4 separate regions of the Homo sapiens genome follow, and all the other regions are linked to region 1. The links are contacts of gene promoters, found by promoter capture Hi-C in human tissues and cell types (Jung and others, 2019). All regions are on one chromosome and are shown on one strand. Each heading gives the region's core, a stretch centred on a gene start or on the middle of the fragment in contact. The rest is flanking DNA. Distances are from core to core; before and after follow the strand shown. Region 1 holds the start of SNRPB (small nuclear ribonucleoprotein polypeptides B and B1). Region 2 overlaps PSMF1 (proteasome inhibitor subunit 1). Region 3 overlaps RAD21L1 (RAD21 cohesin complex component like 1). Region 4 has its middle 31 kb from the start of NSFL1C.

Evidence for each region. Contacts are between HindIII fragments. The study calls those that stand out against the background at their distance.
Region 2: a contact is called between a fragment that was not itself captured here and the fragment with the promoter of SNRPB in region 1, in 1 of the 25 tissues and cell types used here (spleen).
Region 3: a contact is called between a fragment that was not itself captured here and the fragment with the promoter of SNRPB in region 1, in 1 of the 25 tissues and cell types used here (bladder).
Region 4: a fragment that was not itself captured here is called in contact with the fragment with the promoter of SNRPB in region 1 in 1 of the 25 tissues and cell types used here (aorta).

The regions. Positions count from the first base shown.
Region 1 is chr20:2,469,439-2,472,079 of GRCh38, reverse strand. It overlaps SNRPB (small nuclear ribonucleoprotein polypeptides B and B1), which reads left to right and starts at 1,291. Exons shown (of 7, transcript NM_003091.4): 1 at 1,291-1,392. The coding sequence starts at 1,390. RefSeq lists enhancers at 1,282-1,331, 1,342-1,391, 1,552-1,671. The HindIII fragment of the contact is 7,557 bases long and covers 1-2,641 here.
Region 2 is chr20:1,129,827-1,132,467 of GRCh38, reverse strand. The region is part of intron 3 of PSMF1 (proteasome inhibitor subunit 1); the gene reads right to left. Among named protein-coding and RNA genes, the nearest start is that of PSMF1, 13 kb to the right of the region's middle. The HindIII fragment of the contact is 3,650 bases long and covers 1-2,641 here.
Region 3 is chr20:1,251,450-1,254,090 of GRCh38, reverse strand. The region is part of intron 13 of RAD21L1 (RAD21 cohesin complex component like 1); the gene reads right to left. Among named protein-coding and RNA genes, the nearest start is that of SNPH, 14 kb to the left of the region's middle. The HindIII fragment of the contact is 4,407 bases long and covers 1-2,641 here.
Region 4 is chr20:1,434,598-1,437,238 of GRCh38, reverse strand. No RefSeq gene overlaps it. Among named protein-coding and RNA genes, the nearest start is that of NSFL1C, 31 kb to the left of the region's middle. The HindIII fragment of the contact is 5,217 bases long and covers 1-2,641 here.

The DNA of each region.
Region 1 (2,641 bases), core at 42-2,541:
TGTCATTTTCTTTTTTTTCTTTTTTAATCCAAGAAACTTCGGGGATGGGGAACACTGGTGAAGTGGTTTTAGAAACAGTGAATAGAATCAAGAATTCAGTTTTCAACATGTTAAATTTGGTATACCTATTAGACATTCACATCACGCTGGCAGCTGGATATAAAGGGCCAAGAGTTAAATGAAGAGACCAAGGTTAGAGGAACAAACTTGAAAGCCTTGGGTGTATATGCTGTATTTAAAAGTCATAGGAAGGGCCCAGTGTGATGGTTCACGCCTGTAATTCCAGCACTTTGGGAGGCCAAAGTGGGTGGATCAGGAGTTCGAGACCAGGAGTTGAGGTCAGGAGTTCGAGACCAGCCTGGCCAACATGGCAAAACCCCGTCTCTACTAAAAATACAAAAATTAGCCGAGTGTGGTGGCACAGGCCTGTATTCCCAGCTACTCGGGAGGCTGAGGCAGGAGAATCGCTTGAACCGGGGAGGCAGAGGTTGCAGTGAGCCGAGATTGTGCCACTGCACTCCAGCCTTGGTGACAGACTGAGACTCTGTCTCAAAAGAAAAAAAAAAGTCATAGAAAAAAAATAAATGTCATACGACTGGATGCGATTATCAGCAAATATGGGTAGAGCCCTTATTTTGTGCTAAAGTGTTCTAGGCACTACAGCAATGAGTAATACACAAAGAGAAAAATTCACACCCTTATGGATCTTACATTCTAATGGGGAGGGGATAATAAAATAACTAACAAAAATATACAGCGTGTTAGATAGCAAGAGGGAAATACAGGAGAGATGAGGATGAGGTGGGTGGGAAGGTTACAGGATGGCTAGGGAAATCCTCACTGGGAAAATGTTATTTAAGCTTAAACCTTGAAAGAGGTGAGGGCAGCAGCCTTCTGGTATACCTTGGGGACTACCATTCCAGGCAGAGGCGAAAGCAAATGCAGAGGGGCTGAAAAAGGAGCACGTCCAGCCAGTGGAGGGAAAAGCAAGAATAGTGACTGTAGAGGAGAGAGCCGGGGAGGGTGATGGGAAATGAGGACCGAGAGGTTAATGGGAAAGGCGGGGTGAAGAGAAATGAGTGTGACACAGAGCAGCTCTCAGTACGGATTTAAGCTAGGAAGGTGTCCAAACAGGAACTTAAGGCTCTCCTTACGTCAAAGCCGGATGTTAACGCCCAGTCCCCAGGCCCCGCCTCTGCTCGGCAGAAGCTCCGCTCCGGGGCCGGAACTCCAGGGCTAGTGAGCTGGACCGGAAGTAGGTTTCTACCCGACCGCATTTTACGTGGTGCTGCATTTCCGGTAGCGGCGGCGGGAAATCGGCTGTGGGAGAGAGGCTAGGCCTCTGAGGAGGCGAATCCGGCGGGTATCAGAGCCATCAGAACCGCCACCATGGTAAGGAGGGCACAGGCTGGCGGCGCGGGAGCTTCCGAGTCTGTTGTGGAGTGGGAACCGCGACTGATCGGGGAGGAAGCCGTGGGTTGGAGCCACTTAGGGCGGTGAAGGCCTGGGCCGAGGCCGCTCGGTCTGGGCGGGAAAGACCAGGACCTTGGCGGTTCGGCTAGGCATGGGGTCGAGGAAAAGGTTGGAACCGGTGTCGGAGGCCGAGGTCGCTCGGCAGGGGCGAGGGTAGAACCGCGGCTCTCGACACCGCTGTAGCCATAATTCCTGGGACCCAGTAGGCACTAAGTTAACTTTTGCCGAATAAATATATGTCCCGGGCTTCGGAGCAGGCACTGGAGCCGCAGGGGGACCCGGTAAAAGGCTCAGACTTGCGGAAGTTTGTGAGTCTGAGAAAGAGTTGGCGGAAGTGGGTGGAAGGGGCTCGTGGACCACGCTAGAGTCTCGCTAGGTCTGCTGGATGGAGAGGAGGGCGGAGGAGGGTGATGGCGAATGGAGGAAGAGCTCCACTCAGTTGCTCATCACGTTTCCGTGTTTGCCTGTGCCTGACTTCTCAGGCGCTGGGGCTACTCTCTGAAATATGTTTGCTTCCTTCACAGAGGTAGCTGGGGACACATAATATAATTCAGTGTGGTCATTCGGTAAAAGTAACGGCAGCGGGGCGGGGTAAGAATGTTTTCTCAAATAGATGGTTCCTGAGCAGATTCCTAAAAGATTAGCAAGAATGTTCCCGGCGAAAATGGGGGGAATATTACAGACCCGGAGAACTGAAGGAACAAAGGCTGAAGGGTAACAAGATTTAAAAAGTTACTGGATTTTTCTGCGTTTGTTGACTGAGAAAAAGTTGCTGGAGGAGAAAGGAAGAAAGAAGGGAAGACGGGAAGAATTGGCAGGAGGCTAGTTACTAAAGGCCTTGCATGTTAATTTTACCTCAGTGGTGGTGAGGCATGTCATTGAAGGATTTAATTTAATTTATTTTTATTTTTTTGAGACGGAGTTTTGCTTTTGTTGCCCAGGCTGGAGTGCGGTGGATCGATCAGGGTTCACTGCAAACTCCACCTCCCGGGTTCAAGCGATTCTCCTGCCTCAGCCTCCCAAGTAGCTGGGATTGTAGGTACCCGCCACCACACTTGGCTAATTTTTTGTATTTTTAGTAGAGACGGGGTTTCACCATGTTGGCCAGACTGGTCTCGAACTCCTGACCTCAGTTAATCCACCCACCTTGGCCTCCCAAAGTGCTGGG
Region 2 (2,641 bases), core at 79-2,578, 1.3 Mb after region 1:
CCGTCTCTACTAAAAATACAAAAAATTAGCCAGGCATGGTGGCACGCATCTGTAGTCCCAGCTACTCAGAAGGTTGAGGCAGGAGAATCACTTGAACCCCGGAGGCAGAGGTTGAAGTGAGCCAAGATCACACCACTGCACTCCAGCCTGAGCCTTTTTGAGACACAGTGAGACTCTGTCTCAAACAAAGAAAAAAAAAAAGAAAGAAAAAAGAAAAAAAAGAAAAGGCACAGAACCTAGAATAGCTACAACTACCTTGACGAAGAAAAAGTGGGAGGAATTATTCTACTCAATATTAAGGCCTACAATAATCAATACTGATAGAGTAATATTGACAGAGGAAGAGACATAGAGATCAATGGAAAAGAACAAGGGATCCAGAGATAGATCCACAGATGTACAGACAACTGATTTTTGACAAAGTTTCAAAAGTAATTCAATGAAGGAATAACAAATGATGTTGGGGCCATTGGACATCCATGGGTAAAAAATGAGCTGCTTGCCTGCCCAAGCTGGGTGGGAGGGTAAATTCAAGTCTTCTTTCCTTTTAATCAGATCAGAGGGAGGCCTCTGATCTCCCTAGGCATGTGTAAAATTCAGGCCTGATTAAAAAACCACCAGGTCCTGAAGGAGAAGTTCTCACACAATTTCTAAGCCTTGAAAGAACAACTGCCATTTTGGTTGTGGCAAAAGACAGCCTACCATCTCATCCGACACAGAAAGGGTACAGCAGAATGGAACACAATAGGTTTATATTTCTTAGCAAATCACAGTTTGCTCACTGAGGAGCACAAATTGCTGGAAGAGGCAAGACATGCCACAATGACCTAATAAAGAGGGCTACATGGAGGAAGCTATGGCTGAAAGGCATAGGAGGGAGACAGGGCCTCTGATCAGGAGGCAGAGCCATACCTCAGCTTTCACCGCCCATTTCCACGGAGATGACTCCTGGTGATCACATTTTTTTCCCCTTTGTGTATTTTACTAAGAGCTGGACTAAGCGCTAAGCACTCTATGTGCTGACATCTCATTCCATTCTCAGAAAAACCCTGAGGTAGTACTATTGTGTCCCTCATTTCACAGTAATCAAAAAACAAAACAAAACACAACACATATCCCCTCCCTCACACACAAACCCCTCAAACAAATGTACTTAAAAAACAAATAGAGACAGGATCACAATTCTCTTTCAGTATTGCTGAACAGACGGAATGCTCTAATGAGCATGAATGGCCAGTATAATTCCTAGGTTCTTCCACAGGTTTTGTCAATTTCTCTCCCAGTGGAAGTCCAGAGTGAAGAAGTCAAGAGACCACACTCCAAATGTCCCTCCCTTACCCACTAAGAGGGGCCAGGGTGTCAGGGAGTGTGCAACACCCAGAGGCGCGGCATTCTGCCGGCCAGGCCTGGCTCACTTCCCCCTTTCCTCAGAGGCGCAGCATTCTGCCGGCCAGGCCTGGCTCACTTCCCCTTCCCTCCCTTTGTCTATTGCATGCAGAAGACACCCAAACCCTGCCCTCAAGGAGATCACAGGCAAGGAGGGAAGACCAACCCTAAGAAGGTAAATGTAAAATATCTGATGGATTAAATGCTTAAAAAATGATGTTTTGATCCAGGGCAACACAGCAAAGACCTCATCTCTACAAAAAATAAAAAACTGGCTGGGCATGGTGGCACATGCCTGTAGACCCAATTATTTGGGAGGCTCAGGTGGGAGGGTCACTTGAGCCCAGTAGGTTGAGGCTGCTTGGCCTGTTTATAAGTGAGCTGATTGTGCCACTGTACTCCAGCCTGCCTGGGCAACAGAGGGAAACCTGACTCCAAAAAAAACATTTTACTAAAATGTTTTGAAGCTGTAAGCCTGGGGGCCAGAGGAAGCTTCTCTAAGGAACTGACGTTTAAATCGGTAACCAAAAGATAAACAGGAGTTGGCTACGTGAGGTCAGGGAGAGCACTTTAGACAGAGGGAAGAGGTCTGAAGAGGGCAGAAGAATGACACTGTGGCTGAAGCACAGGGATGCGGGGAAGGCAGTACAAGGTGAGATTGAAGGGGTGAATGCTTTAAGGCCTCATCAAGGATTGTGCTCTTTATCCTAACAGCAATGAGTATTCCCTAAAGACTTTTAACTGTGGTAAAATATGCATAAAATTTACCATCTTAACCATTTTTAAGTGTTCAGTACTGTTAAGTACATTAACACTGTTGTGCAATCACCTACCATCCATCTCCAGATCTCTTTTCATTTTGCAAAACAAACTCTGTACCCATTAATCACTAACTCCCCTTCCTATTCCCCTCTTGCCCCAGTATCTGGCAACCACCATCCACTGTCTGTCTCTACAAATTTGACTAATCTAGGTACTTTTAATAGAATCACACAGAATTTGTCCTTTTGTGAATGGCTTATTTAATTTAGTATAATGTCTTCAAGGTTCATCCATGTTGTAGCACGGGCCAGAATTTCCTTCCTTTTTAAAGCCGAATAATATTCTACTGTATTTACATACCAAATTTTGTTCATCCATTCATCTTATCAATGGACAGCCAAGCTGCTTTCACCTTTTGGCTACTGTGAATAATGCTTCTACGAACATGGGTGTACAAATATCTTTTCAAGACCTACTTTCAATTCTTTTGGGT
Region 3 (2,641 bases), core at 89-2,588, 1.2 Mb after region 1:
TACACAAGCTTGGTTCGTGAAGAACATGCATGCAAAAGAATTCCGAAGTGTTATATAAATTTATAATGTGTTATACAAATGATAGGCCTTTTTAAAATTGATGTTAACATAAATGGCTCCAGTGGAAAGGGCAATTAGTCTATATTTGCAGAGACAAAAAAATCCACAGGACTTTGGGAGGCTTCAAATACAATGAAAATGATCAGCCTATCAGTCTTCTTCTACTTAAAGGTACTATAGTGTTGGTGTTGACTATAAACAACTCCAGTTTCAGTGTCAGGGGATTATGACTATGTAAACAACTCCCAATTTCTTTGCACAGATTAAAAAGATGTCGGATTCACCACATGACATCTGTGTACCTACTGAAAATAACTGAGGTACAATAAAGTATTTTAATTATGGATGAAGATAACTCTTTTCATGAAGACTAGGATTTGGAATCAGAGTCCTAGAGTAGAAGTGTAATTTTTTAGTTAGAAATACTGCAGTGCGGCCAGGCGTGGTGGCTCACGCCTGTAATCCCAGCACTTTGGGAGGCCGAGGAGGGCAGATCGCTTGCAGTCAAGAGTTCGAGACCAGTCTGGCAAACATGGTGAAACCTTGTCTGTACTAAAAATACAAAAATTAGCTGGGCATGGTGGCACGCGCCTCTAATCCCAGCTATTCGGGAGGCTGAGGCAGAAGAATCGCTTGAAACCAGGAGGATGAGGTTGCAGTGAGCCGAGATCATGCCACTGCACTCTGGCCTGGGTGACAGTGATACCCTGTCACAAAAAAAGAAAAAAAGAAAAGAAGTACTGCAGTGAATACTGGCCAATGTCCCTATGAGAATCATACACGCTGGATAGTTGTGAAGCTTATTTAGAAATACCACATACAAGGTTTTGCTTGTCCATAACAGTCAACAAATTAATAAATTAAATACTTTGTCATACTTTATCTTAACCAAAGGCGTGGCCCAGGTTCAGTAACCTTTCAAAGATGGCATATCCAGCCTACATTTATTCCCTGCCTTGAGAGAAAAGATGAGAACTGGATGGCTTTTCCCCCCTGGGAGAGAATAAGGACAGTTTTTTCAATTTCAAGAATTATTTTGAAAAACCCTAAAGGGACAAATATGCAAGATTAAACATAAGCGTTTATTTGTGTTCCCTTCAGAAACCCTTCTGAAATGAAGGTAAAGGAAGAAAAAGTGACGAAGGAGATAAAGACAAAGAAAGTGGAAGACATAACTGACTTAGTAGAGTAGAGACAACTGAACCCTAAGTGCTGGCAGGGGGGAAGCCAGCAAAAAGCAAGCTGATTTGAGTGAGACACAGTACCTAGGAAAAGCTCAGGAATTGGAGACATCAGTGTGTCATAAACTGGGGAGAGGGATGAAGCTGAAAACAGGAGAATTCCTTGAGAATCTACTTAGGAACAGTAGCGGAGACCGCTACTCACACAGCAGAAGGCGTGAAGTTGCCCTTCTGGAGATAACAAGCATTGAGGCTTTGAACTTAGGGCACTAGTGCTGTGGATGGTGAAGTGTCATACCACAAACAGTGGGATTAAGGGAAATTCTACACTCTGAACAGTGAGATAACCAGCCTCTCCTTTACCTCCTTTTGGTTCCTGAGCCACTGGCATCATGCTTATATCTCCTAGGCAGTAGACTTAAAGATTATTCTGGAAAAGATGACTATTCTAAGGGAGAACAAAACCCAGTTATATAATACAATCTAGGGAAGGTGAGAGGTGCCACCCAATTACCTCAGTATAAAGACCATAAGTCTACAACCCCTACTCATGCGTATATAACTTCCAGTCAGTTTTTTGGTGTCTCTATCTTAAATAAAAGCAGATAATCCTAGGATCTACAAGACATTTGAGTAAAATCTCTAATATTAAAGAGCAAAAAGGAATACATTCAAGAAAATCACTAAGGAAAGATAATGCAGGGAGCAGAAGTGCAACCTCTGAAGTTAAGAAGTTTTTCATTGTACCCATGAAAAATGGCTAGGATAACAGTGAGAGGAAGCAGATCAGTGGTTGCTTGGGAATGGGGGTGCCAGTTGGAGGTATGCAAATGAGGGATTCAAAAGGGGCACAAGGAAAGTTTTTCTGGTTTGATATATGTTTACTCCTTGATTGTGGTGAAGGTTTTACAGTTGTACACATATGTCAAGACTTATATAATGCATACTTTAAATATAAATAGTTTACTGCATGTTAATCATATCTCAACAAAGCTGCTTTAGAAACCTAATTGAATAATTAAATAAAAATATTATGATGCTATAAAATAAAAGAATAGTTAGTAACCAAGAAAAAAAACTCCTGGAAAACAAAAAGGTGAAAGCAGATATAAAAATTCAGTAAAGTCTAGAAGACAAAGTTGAAGAAATCTAGAGGGTAGAAAAACACAAATACAAAGAAATTAATATAGAGGATAAAAGATGTTATTAAAATTAAAGGAGTAGTTCAGGAGATCCAACATCTGACCCACTGGCCCTTCAGGAAGACAAAACATAAATAAAAAGGAAACTGAGGCCAGGAGTTTGAAACCAGCCTGAGCAACACAGTGGGACCTTGACTCTATGAAAAACTTTAAAAAATAACAATAATAAGGAGAAAGTCCAAGAAATTTTTAAAAATT
Region 4 (2,641 bases), core at 49-2,548, 1.0 Mb after region 1:
AAGCACGCACCACCACGCCCAGCTAATTTTTGTATTTTTAATAGAGAGGGGGTTTCACCATGTTGGCCAGCCTGGTCTCAAAGTCCTGACCTCAGGTAGTCCACCCGCCTCAGCCCCCCAAAGTGCTGAAATTACAGGCATGAGCAACCGCGCCCAGCCCATGAATACTATTTATTGAGTATTTTTCTGTACCACATTATTAACTACATATTTCTCATGAATCATCCCATTTAATCCTCAGGCAAGCCCTATAAGACAGGTACCATTTTTAATTCTATTTTAGATATGAGGGTGAGAGAGGTTAAGCAACATGCCTATTCCACCTAGCCAGCATGTGCAAGTCCACAATTTTATGATAAATTTACCTTAGTTTTTTCTTTTTTTTTTTTTTTTTTTTTTGAGACGGAGTCTTATTCTGTCACCCAGGCTGGAGTGCAGTGTCATGATCTCAGCTCACTGCAACCTCCATCTCCCAGGTTCAGGCAGTTCTCCAGCCTCAGCCTCCTGAGTAGTTGGGATTACAGGCATGTGCCACCACACCCAGCTGATTTTTGTATTTTTTAGTAGAGATGGGGTTTTGCCATGTTGCCCAAGCTAGTCTCAAACTCCCGACCTCAGGTGATCCGCCCACCTCGGCCTCCCAGAGTGCCGGGATTACAGGTGTGAGCCACCGTGCCTGGCGATAAATTTGACCTTAGTATGTTTATTTCGGAGCTTGTACTCTTAATCACTCTGCATATTGCCTCCCTTAACATTTACTTGTGCATAAAGTGTTGAATAATATCCAACTTAGGCTTGAATGTTGAATGTTTCCAGCTTAGGGTTTCCTGGAATGATGAATACTAGCATCTTATTCATAATGATCTGATCATAACATCTATGCAAATTTTAGTTATTCCTACTTCAGGATGGTATTCAAAGTCTTCATCGTATGTGGCCAATCTTTGATGAGTTGGTAAAATCTATATAATATAACCTGTTCATTTTTCAGGTATGTGAGCACATAATTATGTTTCTTTAGGATACTGCTTGCTATGGTTGCGGATTTTCTAACTTGCTTTCTCTGTTTTTTTTAGAACATTTTTGTGGGTATGAGAAATTGATGAATATTGTTATTCATGTTCTCAAAGAAAAAATATGCTGATTGGATCACCTCTTCTTTCCTTCCTTCCTTCCAATTGCACCAACTTCCCTGATGGGCATGGCTCCCTTCACTGTCGGGTTGGATTCTCATTACTGTCTTTTGGAGATGCCTGGGATGCACTGCATTGTACAGACAACTGCCTTCATCTTTGGAATGAGTTTTAAGTTGTCTTGTAATAGCTCTTTTGGCTTCACTGATAGAAGGACCCAGATAAGAATACAGTTTTTTCGCATTGTATTTATTAGTGTTCTAAAATATCTTTTTCTTGAAGAGTCTTATGATCAAGCACCCTGTATTTTAGGAAATTCAGCTGTTGTAAATCTACTTTTTTTAAAGTTCTTATTACAGCATGTAACAAATTACAAAAACATGTAATTTGTAAAAAAAAAAAAAAAATCCTAGGAGACTTAAACAAAAACAATCACCAGCTACCTGAAAACTCAGAAAAATTTGGCCTTGTGCCCCCCAGTTGAGTCAGTTAATGAAGAGATTTTGAATAATGACCATGAGGGCAAACTGCCCAAATCAGGTTCTCAGCTCTGCCATTTATTAGCTCTGAGACCCTGGGCAACCCAACAGCCCCTCTGGGCCTCCTTTTCTTCATCTGCAAAATGGGTATGTCAGTATAACTGATACAGAATAGGTGAGCCCCAAAATTGGTGCTTATCCCAGAAGGGTCCTTAGCTTTTAAGGACAAGCCAGTGGAATTGGCAATCTTTTGTTGAACAGTACTGCTCTTTGTAGAGCAAGGATAACTCCTAGGCAGTGCACTTCAGTCAGCAACATATGGGCTCCTGGCAACTGTATACTCACATAAACCCATTTTTAATTACATGCAAATTAAGGGGCAAGCCAATGCAAACTGAGGGACAGGTTATTTAGAACTTCCTAGGAAAGGGGTGGTAACTTCCAGGTAATTACCATGACATTTGTAAACTGTCATGGTGCTTGTGGGAGTGTCATATGCTAATGAGCAATGAGGGCAGCTAGGGATCACTTTCCTCACCATCTGCTGGTTCCTGCGGTTTCTTCACTTTGTGTAGACCACATCCTGTTTTGGTCAGCAGGGTTGTGACCAGAAAATAAGTTCTGCCAGACTGCTGCCTCATAAGAGTTGTTATACATTTGGCCATATGAGTGAGTATTAACTGTTAACCATTTTCTAATTCATTTAATTTTTAAAATTATCATACAGTAAAATTAACTATGTTGTATATAATTATACAGATTTCAGCACACGTATAGATTCATGTAACCACCACTACAATCAGGACACAAAACAATTCCATCATCCCAGAACCTCCCTCATGCAATGCCTTGATAGTCACACTACCCCTCAAACCCAATCCCTGACAGCCACTGATCTCTTCTTCATCATTGTGGTTTTGTCTTTTCCAGAACATCATGTAAATGGAAGCATACAGCATTTAACCTTTGGAGACTGGCCTCTTAGCATAATTCCTCTGAGATTCATCTGGAGGAACAATTTTCATATGT